2 separate regions of the Homo sapiens genome follow, and region 1 is linked to region 2. Evidence: promoter capture Hi-C in human tissues and cell types (Jung and others, 2019). All regions are on one chromosome and are shown on one strand. Each heading gives the region's core, a stretch centred on a gene start or on the middle of the fragment in contact. The rest is flanking DNA. Distances are from core to core; before and after follow the strand shown.

What was found. Contacts are between HindIII fragments. The study calls those that stand out against the background at their distance.
Region 1: a fragment that was not itself captured here is called in contact with the fragment with the promoter of LRRC8D in region 2 in 1 of the 25 tissues and cell types used here (hippocampus).

What each region holds. Positions count from the first base shown.
Region 1 is chr1:89,660,195-89,667,556 of GRCh38, reverse strand. The region is part of intron 1 of LRRC8C (leucine rich repeat containing 8 VRAC subunit C); the gene reads right to left. It also overlaps the pseudogene LOC100505788. Among named protein-coding and RNA genes, the nearest start is that of LRRC8C, 31 kb to the right of the region's middle. The HindIII fragment of the contact is 4,002 bases long and covers 1,749-5,750 here.
Region 2 is chr1:89,817,564-89,824,425 of GRCh38, reverse strand. It overlaps LRRC8D (leucine rich repeat containing 8 VRAC subunit D), which reads right to left and starts at 3,394. Exons shown (of 3, transcript NM_001134479.2): 1 at 3,135-3,394. LRRC8D-DT (LRRC8D divergent transcript) reads left to right here and starts at 2,632. Exons shown (of 1, transcript NR_185885.1): 1 at 2,632-4,252. RefSeq lists silencers at 2,425-2,644, 2,516-2,725, 2,816-2,915, 3,016-3,365, 3,806-3,865. The HindIII fragment of the contact is 15,684 bases long and covers 1-6,862 here.

The DNA of each region.
Region 1 (7,362 bases), core at 2,500-4,999, 160 kb after region 2:
CTCCCACTGCCCTAGGTTTACTCCTTTTTTAGTTTTTCCCAATATAAGTAACTCGTGCTCTAGCTGATGGATTGGGTGTGAGGTTTGAGAGAGAAGAATCATTATGAGTCCAATATTTTTAAGTTGAGAAGCTGAAATAATGGAGTTGCCATTTTATAAAGGGAGTGAGAGGCTACAGAAAGTAGGTTTAGGGAGTGGGGAATAAGGAGTTTGGATAGAGACATCTGAAATCTGAGATGTCTACTAGACACCCAAGTGGAGGGGCTCCACAAACAGCTGGATACACTGGACTAGAGATAGGAAAGATCTGGGATAGAGATAGAAGTTTGGGAGTCATTAGGGTTATAAAAAGTGATAGGATGAAACCACCTAGGCAGCATATAGAGAGGAGAAAACGGTCTAAGGACTTCCTGCAGCAAGGAGCATTCTGCCACCAGATATTGGCATGAATATTGTTTTCTCACTTCCTTCAGGTCTCTGCACATATATCATTATTGGAGACACCTTTTCTGGCTACCCTATTGAAAATATTAATACCAACTCACCAAAAGCAAGAGCATGCCATCCCAGCACTCCCTTTTTCATTCCCTAAGTTGCTTTCCTCAATAGCATTATCTTTATCAGATGTACTATACGGGTATTACTCATTTAGTTATACTTCTATCTCTCTGCTGCATCATAAGGTAAGCTCCCTAAGAAATGGGGACTTTGTTTTGTTCACTCCTGTCTCCCAGAGCCTAGAACAGTATCTGGCACATAAAAGGTACTCAATAAGTAATTGCTGAACCAATGAAATGAGAAATGAGCATCTACTTAACCTGAAATTCTTCCAGTTATTAAAATGAATAACAGAAATGTTTATGTGACTAACAGAAATTAGAGTAAGGTGCACTTGGTTTTGGGGAAGAGAACACCAGATTTCTTTTGTACTACTCTGCATTTTCTCATGATACCTGCACCCTGTTTAGGGGCAAAGAGGAAGCAAAGAAGTCAAAGAGGCCACCTGAGAGATCTGCATGGAGCTGGAAAAGGACAATTCTATCTTATTTAGAGAGTTGGGAGAAGGAACAAAGGAGAGGAGTGGGACAAGAACTGTCCTGGGCCTCATTTGTTTTGAATCATGGGCTTCTTTATATATATATATTTTTGTTAAAGTTCTAGTGTACATGTGCACAAGGTGCAGGTTTGTTACATATGTATACGTGTGCCATGTTGGTGTGCTGCACCCGTTAACTCGTCTCCTTTATATTATTAACAGTATCATGTTTTTTCCTCTACTCACATTGCCGGCCTCTGTCAACTTCCAGGGACCTACCATGGAATAAGGTAAAGACTGCAAGAAGGGAATGTACATGTTTATTAAGCAACAGCAGTGCAATAGCAATCATTGATCATTTGGGTCAAAATGCAGTCATATGTTGCTTAATAATGGGGATACGTTCTGAGAAACGCATCATTAGGCAATTTTGTCGTGTGGATGTCATAGAGTGTACTTATACAATCCTAGACGGTATAGCCTACTACGCACTTTGGCTATAGGGTTTGGCCTCTTGCTCCTAGGCTATAAATCTGTACAGCATTTTCCTGTACTGAATCCTGTAGGTAACTGCAACATAATAGTAAGTATTTGTGTATCGAAACATAGGAAAGGTAAAATAAAAATGTATAAAAGATTAAAAATAGTACACCTGTATAGGGTACTTACCATGAATGGAGTTTGCAGGACTGGAAGTTGCTCTGGATGGGTCAGCAAGTGAGTGATGAGTGAATGTGAGGGCCTAGGATGTTACTTTGCACTGCCGTAGACTTTATAATAAACACTGTACACCTAGGCTACACTAAATTTATAAAAAAAATTTTTCTTTCTTCAACAATAAGCTGTAGGTTACTGCAACTTTTTTGCTTTTTAAACTTTAAACATTCTTTATAACTTTTTGATGCTTTCATAATAACATTTGGCTTAAAACACAAACACATTTTATAGCTGCGCAAAAATATATTTTATTCCTTATTCAATAAGTTTTTTGCTATTAAATTATTATATTTTGCTTTTTAAATTTTTTAACTAAAAACGAAGACGCCAACATGTATATTAACCTAGGCCTACACATACACAAATCAATAAACATAATCCATCACATAAACAGAACCAATGACAAAAACCACATGATTATCTCAATAGATGCAGAAAAGGCCTTCAACAAAATTCAACACCCTTTCATGCTAAAAACTCTCAATAAACTAGGTATTAATGGAATGTATCTCAAAATAATAAGAGCTATTTATGACAAACCCACAGCCAATATCATAATGAACGGGCAAAAGCTGGAAGCATTCCCTTTGAAAACTGGCACAAGACAAGGATACCCTCTCTCACCACTCCTATTCAACGTAGTATCGGAAGTTCTGGCCAGGGCAATCAGGCAAGAGAAAGAAATAAAGGATATTCAAATAGGAAGAGAGGAAGTCAAATTGTCTCTGTTTGCAGATGACATGATTGTATATTTAGAAAACCCCATCATCATCTCCTTAAGCTGATAAGCAACTTCAGCAAAGTCTCAGGATACAAAATCAATGTGTAAAAATCACAAGCATTCCTATACAGCAATAATAGACAAACAGCCAAATCATGAGTGAAATCCCATTCACAATTACTACAAAGAGAATAAAATACCTAGGAACACAACTTGCAAGGGATGTGAAGGATCTCTTCAAGGAGAACTACAAACCACTGCTCAAGGAAATAAGAGAGAACACAAACAAATGGAAAAACATTCCATGCTCATGGATAGAAAGAATCAATATCGTGAAAATGGCCATACTGCCCAAAGTAATTTTATAGATTCAATGCTATCACTGTCAAGCTACCATTGACTTTCTTCACGTAATTAGAAAAAACTGCTTTAAATTTCATATGGAACCAAAAAAGAGCTCACATAGCCAAGACAATCCTTAGCAAAAAGAACAAAGCTGGAGGCATCACACTACCTGACTTCAAACTATACTACAAGGCTACAGTAATCAAAACAGCATGGTACTGGTACCAAAACACAAATATAGACCAATGGAACAGAATAGAGGCCTCAGAAATACCACCACACCTCTACAACCATCTGATCTTTGACAAACCTGACAAAAATAAGAAATGGGGAAAGGGTTCCCTATTTAGTAAATGATGTTGGGAAAACTGGCTAGCCGTATGCAGAAAACTGAAACTGCACCCCTTCCTTACACATTATACAAAAATTAACTCAAGATAGATTAAAGACTTAACTGTAAGACATAAAACCATAAAAACCCTAGAAGAAAATCTAGACAATACCATTCAGGACATAGGCATGGGCAAAGACTTCATGACTAAAACACCAAAAGCAATGGCAACAAAAGCCAAAATTGACAAATGGGATATAATTAAACTAAAGAGCTTTTGCACAGCAAAAAACAAACAAACAAACAAACAAAACTGTTATCAGGGTGAACAGGCAACCTACAGAATGGGAGAAATTTTTTGCAATCTATTCATCTGACAAAGGGCTAATATCCAGAATCTACAAAGAACTTAAACAAGTTTACAAGAAAAAAATCAACACCATCAAAAAGTGGGCAGAGGATATGAACAGACACTTCTTAAACGAAGACATTTATGCAGCCAACAAACATGAAAAAAAGCTCATCATCACTGGTCATCAGAGAAATGCAAATAAAAACCACAATGAGATACCATCTCACACCAGTTAGAATGGCGATCATTAAAAGTCAGGAAACAACAGATGCTGGAGAGGATGTGGAGAAACAGGAACGCTTTTACACTGTTGGTGGGAGTGTAAATTAGTTCAACCATTGTGGAAGACAGTGTGACAATTCCTCAAGGATCTGGAACTGGAAACACCATTTGACCCAGCAATCCCATTACTGGGTCTATGCCCAAAGGATTATAAATCATTCTACTATAAAGACACATGCACATGTATTTTTTTTTTTTTTTTTGAGACAGAGTCTCGCTCTGTCGCCCAGGCTGGAGTGCAGTGGCGCAATCTCGGCTCACTGCAAGCTCTGCCTCCCGGGTTCACACCATTCTCCTGCCTCAGCCTCCCGAGTAGCTAGGACTACAGGTGCTGGCCACCAAGCCCGGCTAATTTTTTGTATTTTTAGTAGAGGTGGGGTTTCACTGTGTTAGCCAGGATGGTCTCGATCTCCTGACCTCATGATCCGCCCGCCTCTGCCTCCCAAAGTGCTGGGATTACAGGCATGAGCCACCGCGTCCGGCCACATGTGTGTTTATTGCAGCACTCTTCACAATAGCAAAGACTTAGAACCAACCCAAATGCCCATCAATGATAGACTGGATAAAGAAAATGTGGCACATATACACCATGGAATACTATGTAGCCATAAAAAAGGCTGAGTTCATGTCCTTTGCAGGGACATGGATGAAGCTAGAAACCATAATTCTCAGCAAACTAACACAAGAACAGAAAACCAAACACTGCATGTTCTCACTCATAAGTGGGAGTTGAACAATGAGAACACATGGACACAGGGAGGGGAACATCACACACTGGGACCTGTCAGGGGATGGGAGGCTGGGGAAGGGATAGCATTAGGAGAAATACCCAATGTAGACGACGGGTTGATGGGCACAGCAAAGCACCATGGCACGTGTATACCTATGTAACAAACCTGCAGGTTCTGCACACGTATCCCAGAACTTAAAGTATAATAATTAAAAAAAAGAAACATAGGAAAATAATATCTACCCCATGGCGGGGGCTGAAAACACAATACTAAATTTGTGGTATTCAAGAGTCAGACAGTTAACCTTTTGCTATAACTAGCATTATTCAGGTCCCTTACTGGAGTTTAGGGCTCTATTTTAAGAGGAATATCAAAAAATATTACATAGACATAAGGGCAAAAAGTTTTACCTACAAAAATATATTCAGATTCCAACGATTTCTGACCCATCTTAGCTGCTACCCCGATCCAAGCCACCATCATCTCTCAATTAGATTATTGCAAGATTATTGCAATATCTTCCTGATTAGTCTCTCCACTTCTACCAATGACCCCTAGAGAGTCATCTCAAGTGAGCAACCAGAATGATCCTGGGTTTCTTCTCCATTCAAAATCCTCTAATAATTCTCCATCTCACTCTGTGAAAAAGCGAAAATCTTTACAAAAGTCCTAAAAGGCCCTCTGCAATCTCACTCCCACCCCACACCAGTCTCATAGCCCTCTCCTGCACACTCGCTTTGCTCCAGCCACACTGGGCCTTCTAGCACAAGCTTGTCCAATCTGTGGCCTGCAGACCACTTGTGGCCCAGGATGGCTTTGAATATGACCCAACAGAAATTTGCAAGCTTTCCTTTCCTAAAACATTATGAGATTTTGTGATTTTTTTTCTTTTAGCTCATCAGCTATCATTAATGTATTTTATGTGTGGCCCAAGACAATTCTTCTTCTTCAAGTGTGTCCCAGGGAGGCCAAAAGATCGGATGCCCCTGTTAGAGTGGTTTCTTGGCACCCCAGGTTCACTCCTGCTTTTGCATTTGCAACAGCTCTGTCTGGAATTCTCATCTTCCTGGTATCTGCAGGGCTCAATCCTTCACCTTCTTTAGGCCTTGCTGAAATTTACCCAGATTGCAACCACTTTTCACCATTTCTATCACTACTCCTCTGGTCCAAGCCTTCACCCTCCTCTTGTTTAGATAATACTGCAAAGCCAATTTAATATCACACCATATCTCAGCCATAGCACTCCCTTTCCTCCTGCCCTGCCTTATTTTTCTCCATAGCACTTAACACCTTTGAACATACTATATATATTTTAGCTAATTATGCATTTCCTTTTCTCTCTCCTCCCACTTGAATGCAAGTCCCAGGAGGGCAGAAATTTTTGCCCAATTTGCAAAATGTTTTGTCCCTAATGCCCAGAAGAGTGTCTGGCCCATATTTGTCATTCACCAGATATCTGTTAATTAGAAGAGTAAAGTGGTAGAAACAGAACCTATCAAGAAACACTATGGAGATACTACTTAGGCCAGAGCCTGGTGGCTAGGCTGGTTCTCTCCTTTCCAATCGGAGGCCTCTTCAGCAAACATGCTCCACCACATCATCACTCAGTCCAAGAAGCATCTAAGCTTGATCTCCCTCTTTGTATTCATTGGAGCTGGAGGTACTGGAGCAGCACTGTATCTCGTGTCTGGCATTGTTCAATCCAGATGTTAGTTGGGACAGAAAGAATAATCCAGAGCCCTGGAACAAACTGGCTCCCAATGATCAATACAAGTTCTACTCAGTAATTGTGGATTACAGCAAACTGAAGAAAGAAGGTCCAGATTTCTAACAAATGTTTCACTATAAAGCTGCTTTAGAATGAAGGTCTTCCAGAAGCCATCCACACAATTTTCCGCTTAACCAGGAAATACTTCTCCTCTAAATGCATGAAATCATGTTGATGTAATCTATTGGCGATTGCACTGATTAGTAAATAACTGAAACTTGGAAAACAAAACAAAACAAAAAGAAACACTATGTAAATTGAGACAAGCAAAGGAATACAAAAGGCTACCAGAGGAGTCCAGAGCCTGGATGTCCATGGATAGACTTCAGTGCCAAATACAAAATGTTTCAACTTTGCACATTACAGGCTTTAAACTGCTGCATGAGAGATTTAGGAAGAAACAACCCATTGTTAAATGACCAAATAAATGGTTACAGGACGAAATCTGAGGGTTGGTCATGCCAAGGAGATGTGAAAAATAGGACAGTGAATCATGTTTTGATGGTGAGCTTGCTGTCTGGAGGCAGGGTGCTGGATGAGAAAGGTTCTTTTGCTCCACTAGGAGCTTAAGATGAGTATTTCTCCAGGAGCCAACATTACTTACTGAAATGCAGAAAGTGCACATGTTTTCAAAGGGAAAACACATGGACTGGTATTAAATTAATAACTTCTGATTGGAAAACTTGTTGACAGAATTTGGCTGAGCTAGTCTCCTGAAATTTATTAGGGAACATCTGGGGGGAAATAAAACCTAGGATAGGGAGGAAGAGTGGCTCTCAACCTTGGCTGCACATTGGAATCATCTGGAGAGTTTTAAAAACACTGATGCCTGGGTGCAGTTAAATCAGAACCGCTGGGGTGGGGCCCAGGCATGAGGTTTTTGTTTTGTTTTGTTTTAGAGGTCCTCAAGTGATTCCAACATGTAGGTGAGGTTGAGACCTATTCTCCCCAAAACATCTGTTTCTTCTGTTTGTGATAAAAAGTACAGCTACGCACTAAGTGAGGTCTTAGGGAAAAACCAGAGCTTTATCTGGGCCTATCAAAGGCAGGGTTTACTCACTTAAAATGATTTCAGTACT
Region 2 (6,862 bases), core at 2,145-4,644:
GATTTCAATGATTCCCAACTTACTCCACTATCATACTGTGCTCATCTGCTATGATCTCCCTCCAAACTGCCCCTTTCTTTCAATAAGGATTTGCCCAGACCCTAATCACATCAGACCTGAGCACAAGTCTCCTACATCAGCTTCCTAAGCTCAATGTTATTACTCCTCCCATGTCAAGAACCACCTCCCTTCAAGACCTATTCTGAGATCTAAGGGCAGGCACTATCGCCATTTTGGACAGGATCATTCTTTGTTTAGGAGGAAGGGGGTTGATGTCCTGTGCACAGTAGGATGCTTATGTATCATCCCTGTCCTCTAGCCACTAGATGACAGCAGCACCTGCCACCTCGCTATGATAACCATAAATGTCTCCGACATTCCTCAATGTCTGCTGAGAAGCAAAATTGCCTACTTCTGAGAGCCACTGGTCTTGAGGCAAATGATTAACACCACTGACTTGTGGTTAAGTTTTTCACGAACTAGGTTCCCTCTACCCTCCTTTATTAGTCGTATATTCTGTTCCACATCCCTGACCACTGTCAAAAGTCAATTCAGATTTCCACTCCTCCCTCAGCATACTTCATAAACTTTTATCTGGTTCCACACACCCTGGATTCTTAGACAACTGTAACTGTCTGCTTCTGCTGGCATCCTCATGTGTGCCTGTCTTATCTGCTCTCTGTGATTACTACGAGAATCCTCTCCTGCCTTGTTAAGATCCCACAGCACCCACTCCAGTTCTCTGCTTCCTGCTGGCACTCAACAAATATTAACTGGTGTTTCTTAGAATGTCAAACACCAGCTCCAATTAAAAATAACTGAAATCTCTTACAAGCTACCACTTCAACAACATAATAATCATGATTACAAAGTTTTGACAAACTTTTGACTTTAATAGCTATTTTGTCTACAGTACTGAGAACAGAATCGAGTCTAATTTCCAAACTATAGCTACCAAAACAATTTAACTATTTGGACATGACAAACACATCAGAATTTTCTAAAATTAATTTTTAAAAATGCTGCATAATATAAAAATTAAGGGAAAAGGGGCCTAGTTTTTTTCTTTTTTCTTTCCATTAAACTTTAGCGATTTTGAGAAAAAAAGGGCCAAGTTTTGACCATGTTTTTTAAATGCTGGAAAACACAGCAGGGAGAAAATGATATGAATATGGCTCAATACTTTAAGTGTTGCATCATATGCTACTCCACATGGTAATGGAAGGCTGGGTCATCTAAGGACAGTTTCCTCTCCAACCTTCTAATCTGTTAGGTTTTAATCAACACGCACACATACACTCTCAATAAAAACGAGACAAATCTAACATAGTGTTCAAATATATAAATAAACTGTGCCAATTCAAGATTTTGGAATTTTTCCCTGGCTCCATAGATTACCTAATCATTTTATGGGGGGCTCCATAAGTAACCTACAGAGACCAAACACCCCAAATCAACTTTTCGTGACCCCTGTTTTAACCACCTAATTTTCATCTCAGATTCCTCCCCATCTTGCACTTGGATTTTAACAGGGATTTAGTTAGTTGGTGTCAAGACAGATGAAGCAAGAACCCCAACTCTCGCCTAGCTGACAGTAGGTGTTTGGTCACTATTTTTGGACTGCAAAAATAAATGCTGCCTGAGGACCCCATTTACAGGATATGGTGCAGGGTTCTTCCCACAGGTCTGTAAGAAGCAGAGGTCCCAGATGCTATGGCGAGGAAGGTCTGATCACTCTCATTCTTGGCACTGGGAGGGGCCCCTTATTTGTTTATAAGGTAGACAGCCCTCATCATTACTGCAAACGGGGATTCCCTGCCTGTCCAGACTCTTCCAAAGTCCGGTACAAACCACGTAATAGGTGCTCAATAAACGCTGCCTGTACGGAATTTTACTATCAAAGCTGCCAAGGAAAGTTTCCAGAAATCAGCTCTTCCAAAATATGTCCTCAGAGTTTTCTTTGTCCAACAAAAAAATATTTTTGAAGATCCAAGAGCAGGAAATCTGCGAGGCAACGAGGAGCCAAATATAAGCCAAGCGGCTCCAGCTGGGCCCCACATTCCGCTAGGACTCCCCAGTACCTATTCCCCATCTCTCCGCCTACATCCTGAGTGCGCCCTCCCTCTCATCTCGGCTGTTTCCTTCCCACAACCCTACCTCCATACTTTCGGCCACACACACCCCAAGTGCGTGCTCCTGGAACCTCACAGCCCACCTCTCCCTCTCCAGCAAGGACCTACCTCTCTTCCCCTCGACCTGCAGCAGTTCTTCTTCACTGCAGCTGGCTTTTTAAGAAATCAAAAAATCTCATTTATCTGCAAGGGATACCCCCTAGTAAAGGGTGACGGAAAGGAGAAGGCCCCTATCAACCCTCCAGTAACTGGAGGTGCTGGTCCTCCCGGCAACCACCCCCAATTCTCCTCCTTTTCAAGCCCCTGGACAGGATTTGAGCAGAAGTCCCGCTCCCAAGAGCCCACGCCTCCAAACAAGCTAGAAGCGGATTATACCGGTACCCAACCCGGAGACGGCCCGCGGACGGCTGGGTGCACCTGCGGGCCCCCAGCTCCCTCCCACAGGCGCGGGGGGCGGGGCGCGGGCCTTCACCTCCCCGCCCCCGCCCGCCGGGCTCCCAGCGCAGCCCACCCTGCACAGGAAGGAAGCGGAGGGGAGGCGATTCTGGAGAAGTTAAAGGGCTCACCTTTGGACGCCGGGCCAGCAAGGCCAGACACCAAACACCCACCTCCGGGAGGAACCAGCAGAGCCGAAACCGGCTCTCCCCGCCTTTCCGATAGGGCGGAGGGAGGTGAGAGAAGGGAGCGCGCGCGAGGGGTTCAGGAGCCAGGAAGCCGCACTCCCCTCCCGCAGGGCCGGCCGCCCGGGGCCGAAGCGGCCGACGCTCAGACTGCAGAAAGCGGAACAATCTCCCAGGCCCTGGCGGCAGCAAACGGGAGCCCACTCCGCTCGCCGCCACCTCCTCCCGACCCCCGGACGTCCCCGAATGAGTTCCCGGCCGCAACCGCAGCTCGGGCCGCGGCGCCTGCGCCAGGGTTGCGCGCTCCGGCTCGGCGCGGCTCCACCTGCGCGTCGCCTTCCCTCGCAGCCCCCGGCCCCTGCCGGGAGAGGTGCGCACCAACCTTGGGGTGCAGCTCGGCCGCCAAGCCACGGCTTATGCTGAGGCCGGAGGTGGCGGCATCACCCGCGGCGGGCGGCGGCTGCACCGGGACGCGCCGGGGCGGCGAAGGCGCGCTGCACCCTGGACCCTGCTCCCGCGGCCCCGCCCGCGGCTGCCACCTCGAAGCGCGGCGGAGGAGCCGGGGCACCACGGGCGGCGGCAGCGGCAGCGGCAGCAGCGGCGACGGGAGCAGCAGCACATGACTCTGTAACGAGGGGAATTAGACAAAGCGTAACATGGACTCCGGGCCCGTGCAGGCGCTGCAGCTCTGGGACCAACCGCAGCCGGCGAGTGCCGCGACTGGCCCGGCCGCAGCCAATGGGGCGGGCCCGGGCCTCCATGTGATTGCGAGCGCTTTCTCCGGTGGCCCTGCAGCGCCTGACCGGACGGGGTCTGTGTGGCGAGGGAGGGGACCCGGGGTTGGAGACTGGCGGCGAGCGACTGCTAGATGCGGAGCAGGTGCTTGGGAGGGGAAGAACGGCAGCCTACATAACCATCGCCGTAATGCTCTCGCAAGCGTCCACCTGGGCAGGGCTCGGTGCCGGGCAGGCGCAGCTGCCAGTTAGCTGCGAGGCATGGTCAGGAGCCTTCACCCGTCCTGGGCGAAGGAGGCTGTCCCGTCGACTAAAACTCTGATATTAAGACTTGGCGCTGGGGGTGGGGAGTTGAATTACGTTAAAAAGTCACTTAAGTGCCTTCCAACTCTAAGGAGAAGTACTTATCTGAGCTTTGGGGCACACACAACTACTACTTGGCATGGAGAGTTTCTCAGCTTCATGTGTTCCGTCTGTTATTGAAGCTGTATTGGAAAGTCGGTTCTTGTTTTTATCTGAGCCCGCCGTTTTCATCCCATTCTTTTCGTCAAAAATATGTTACATCTGAAAGAGGCAGATGAAAAGATTATTCTATGCTAAGAGGGTTTTGCAGCCCGATAATGTCACCGTTTTTTGTTGTTGTTGTTGTAGGATCGGGGTTCATTTGCAGTCTTTTTTGTGGGTGAGCAGAGGCAGGGGCCAATAAATAAATTAAGGCGGGATATTTGGAGTTATTTGGTTGTAATAAAATATGTGGTTCAACCCAGTGCTTTCATATCTTCTTTTATCTGAATCCATGTGTTTCTGTAAACCATCGGAAGTCTAATCTGTCTTCTACCAATATCTCTCCATGTCAGCAAATGTTCAATCAACGTTTACCCAGCATCTAAATATTCTTAATAAGCATGCTGCACAAATGTTACAGGTACTCAGGAAGGTGTCGGTTCAGAGACAGTGAGACATTAAAGAGAATGATTGTCCAGGGTTTCAGAAAAGGATTCAGAGAGGAGCTGATAGAATTGACCCTTGGATGGTGAGCACTTGGCCCTCAGGCATTGGACGTGAAGAAGAGCAGCCCAAACAGGAACATGAACAGAGAGGTCCAGAATACACTCAAGGGACTGCCCGAGACCCGTTACAAGATGCCACCAGATTCTGAGCCCTCGGCCCTTTTGCTCTCACTTTCCTTCCCCGACCCTCCTTGCCAGCAGCCACTCCTGTTCCACACACTGCCAAGAAGGAGGTGTATGGGCAGGGAGTGTGTGTAAGTGATCTAATCAGTGTCAGATTTGCTGATCTAAGAGATGAGAGGTCTTTTAAAACTTAACAACTAGTGGTGTGATATTTTTATTGAAAACAGCCCACTATTATAATGAATATGGAATGTTTTGCTGTTTGTAAAAAAAAAAAAAAATTATAGGCCGGGTGCAGTGGCTCACGCCTGTAGTCCCGGTACCTTGGGAGGCCGAGGCAAGAGGATCACGAGGTCAGGAGTTAGAGACCAGCCTGACCAACATGGTGAAAACCCGTCTCTACTAAAGACACAAAAATTATCTGGGCATGTTGGCACGCACCTGTAATCCAAGCTACTCAGGAGCCTGAGGCAGGAGAATCGCTTGAACCTGGGAGGCGGAGGTTGCAGTGAGCTGAGATGGTGCCACCACACTCCAGCCTGGGCGACAGAGTGAGACTCCATCTCAAAACCAAAAAACCAAAAAAACCAATCTTCTGTACTTTGTTCTTTTGATCTTCCCTGGGTTTTAAATTGTGATTCTAGACTTGAAAAACATGATTTTAAGATTGGTATAAATCGAGAAAAGAAAAAAGTGATATTCAGAAAACAGTCAAATGTGGAGAAATAGACACTCACACACTGTAAAAGTAAGAGGAAATTGGACAAACCCCTTTGGAGGACAATTTGGAAATTTTTGATAAATAGGTGTGTTCCCTTTGAATAGGTAAGTCCATGTCTAAGAGTTTGTGCTTTAAGCATATTTGTGCAAAAATTATGTCAGAAATATTTACACATGTACAAAAATATATATATACGTGTCTTATTGCAACATTGTTTGTAATAGTGGGAACATGTAATGGTGTAAAAATCAAATAATAAAGTCCCAGTAGGAAACTGTTTAAGCAAATTTTGCTAGATCTGTAGAAGGAAACCATAAGCAGCCATTAACAAAAATAAGCTAGATCTATTTGTACCTACATGGAAGGATGTCCAAAATCTATAAGTGAAAAAAAAGGAGGCTGCAGAACAATATGAATAGTATGATTCCATTTTTTTGTACTTTTTTGCATTAAGATATACATGTTATTAAATGTATGCTTCAGAAGAAGTCTGGAAGCATATATAACAAGCTGTTAATGGTGATTATCTCTGGGTGTGGGATTACTAGGGCCTTTCATCAAGTTCTGTATGTTTGAATTGTTTTTATATTGAGCACATATTACTCTGATAATCAGAATAATAATTTTAAAAATTTAAAGGATTGTTTTAGAGTATATTCAGGCTATTATAACAAAATACCATAAGCTGGGTGGCTTATAAGCAACAGAAATTGGCTGGGCATGGTGGCTTATGCCTGTAATCCCAGCACTTTGGGAGACCTAGGCTGGAGGATCACCTGAGGTCAGGAGTTCGAGACCAGCCTGGCCAACATGGTGGAACCCTGTCTCTACTAAAAATAAAAAAATTAGCTATGAGTGGTGGCAGGCACCTGTAATCCCAGCTACTCGGGAGGCTGAGGCAGGAGAATCACTTGAACCCAGGAGGTGGAGGTTGCAATCAGCCAAGATCATGCCAGTGCACTCCAGCCTGGGTGACAGAGTGAGGCTCTGTCTCAAAAAAAAAAAAAAAAAAATTTTTATTTCCTATAGTCTGGGGGCTAGGAAGTTCAAGGCAACAGCAGATTCCACGTCTGTGTGTGTGTGTGTCTTCTTTCTAGTTCAGAGAGGGTGACTTCTTGCTGTGTCTTCATATAGTGGAAGGAGTGAGGGTCTCTCTCAGGCCTCCTTTTTAAGGCCACTAATCCCATTCATGAAGGCTCTGCCATCATGACCTAATCGCCTCCCAAAGGAATGACCTCCTAATACCATCAGTTTAGGGGTTAGGATTTCAACATATAAAATGGAGGGGCGGGGGACGCAATATTCAGACTATAGCATGGATCAAACTAGTAAGAAGTCTACCAATGATAAGTAATGAAAAATAACTCTGATTATCTATGATGTAAAAACAGAAACAAAAAAATCAGCCCATCAGTTTCCCCTTTTCCACAAAAAAACAGAACGGAGGCAGCAAAGGACAATAACTGATTTGATGTTGGGTTCAGAATTAAGAAATATGATGGAAAAGGAATCTGAGGCTACT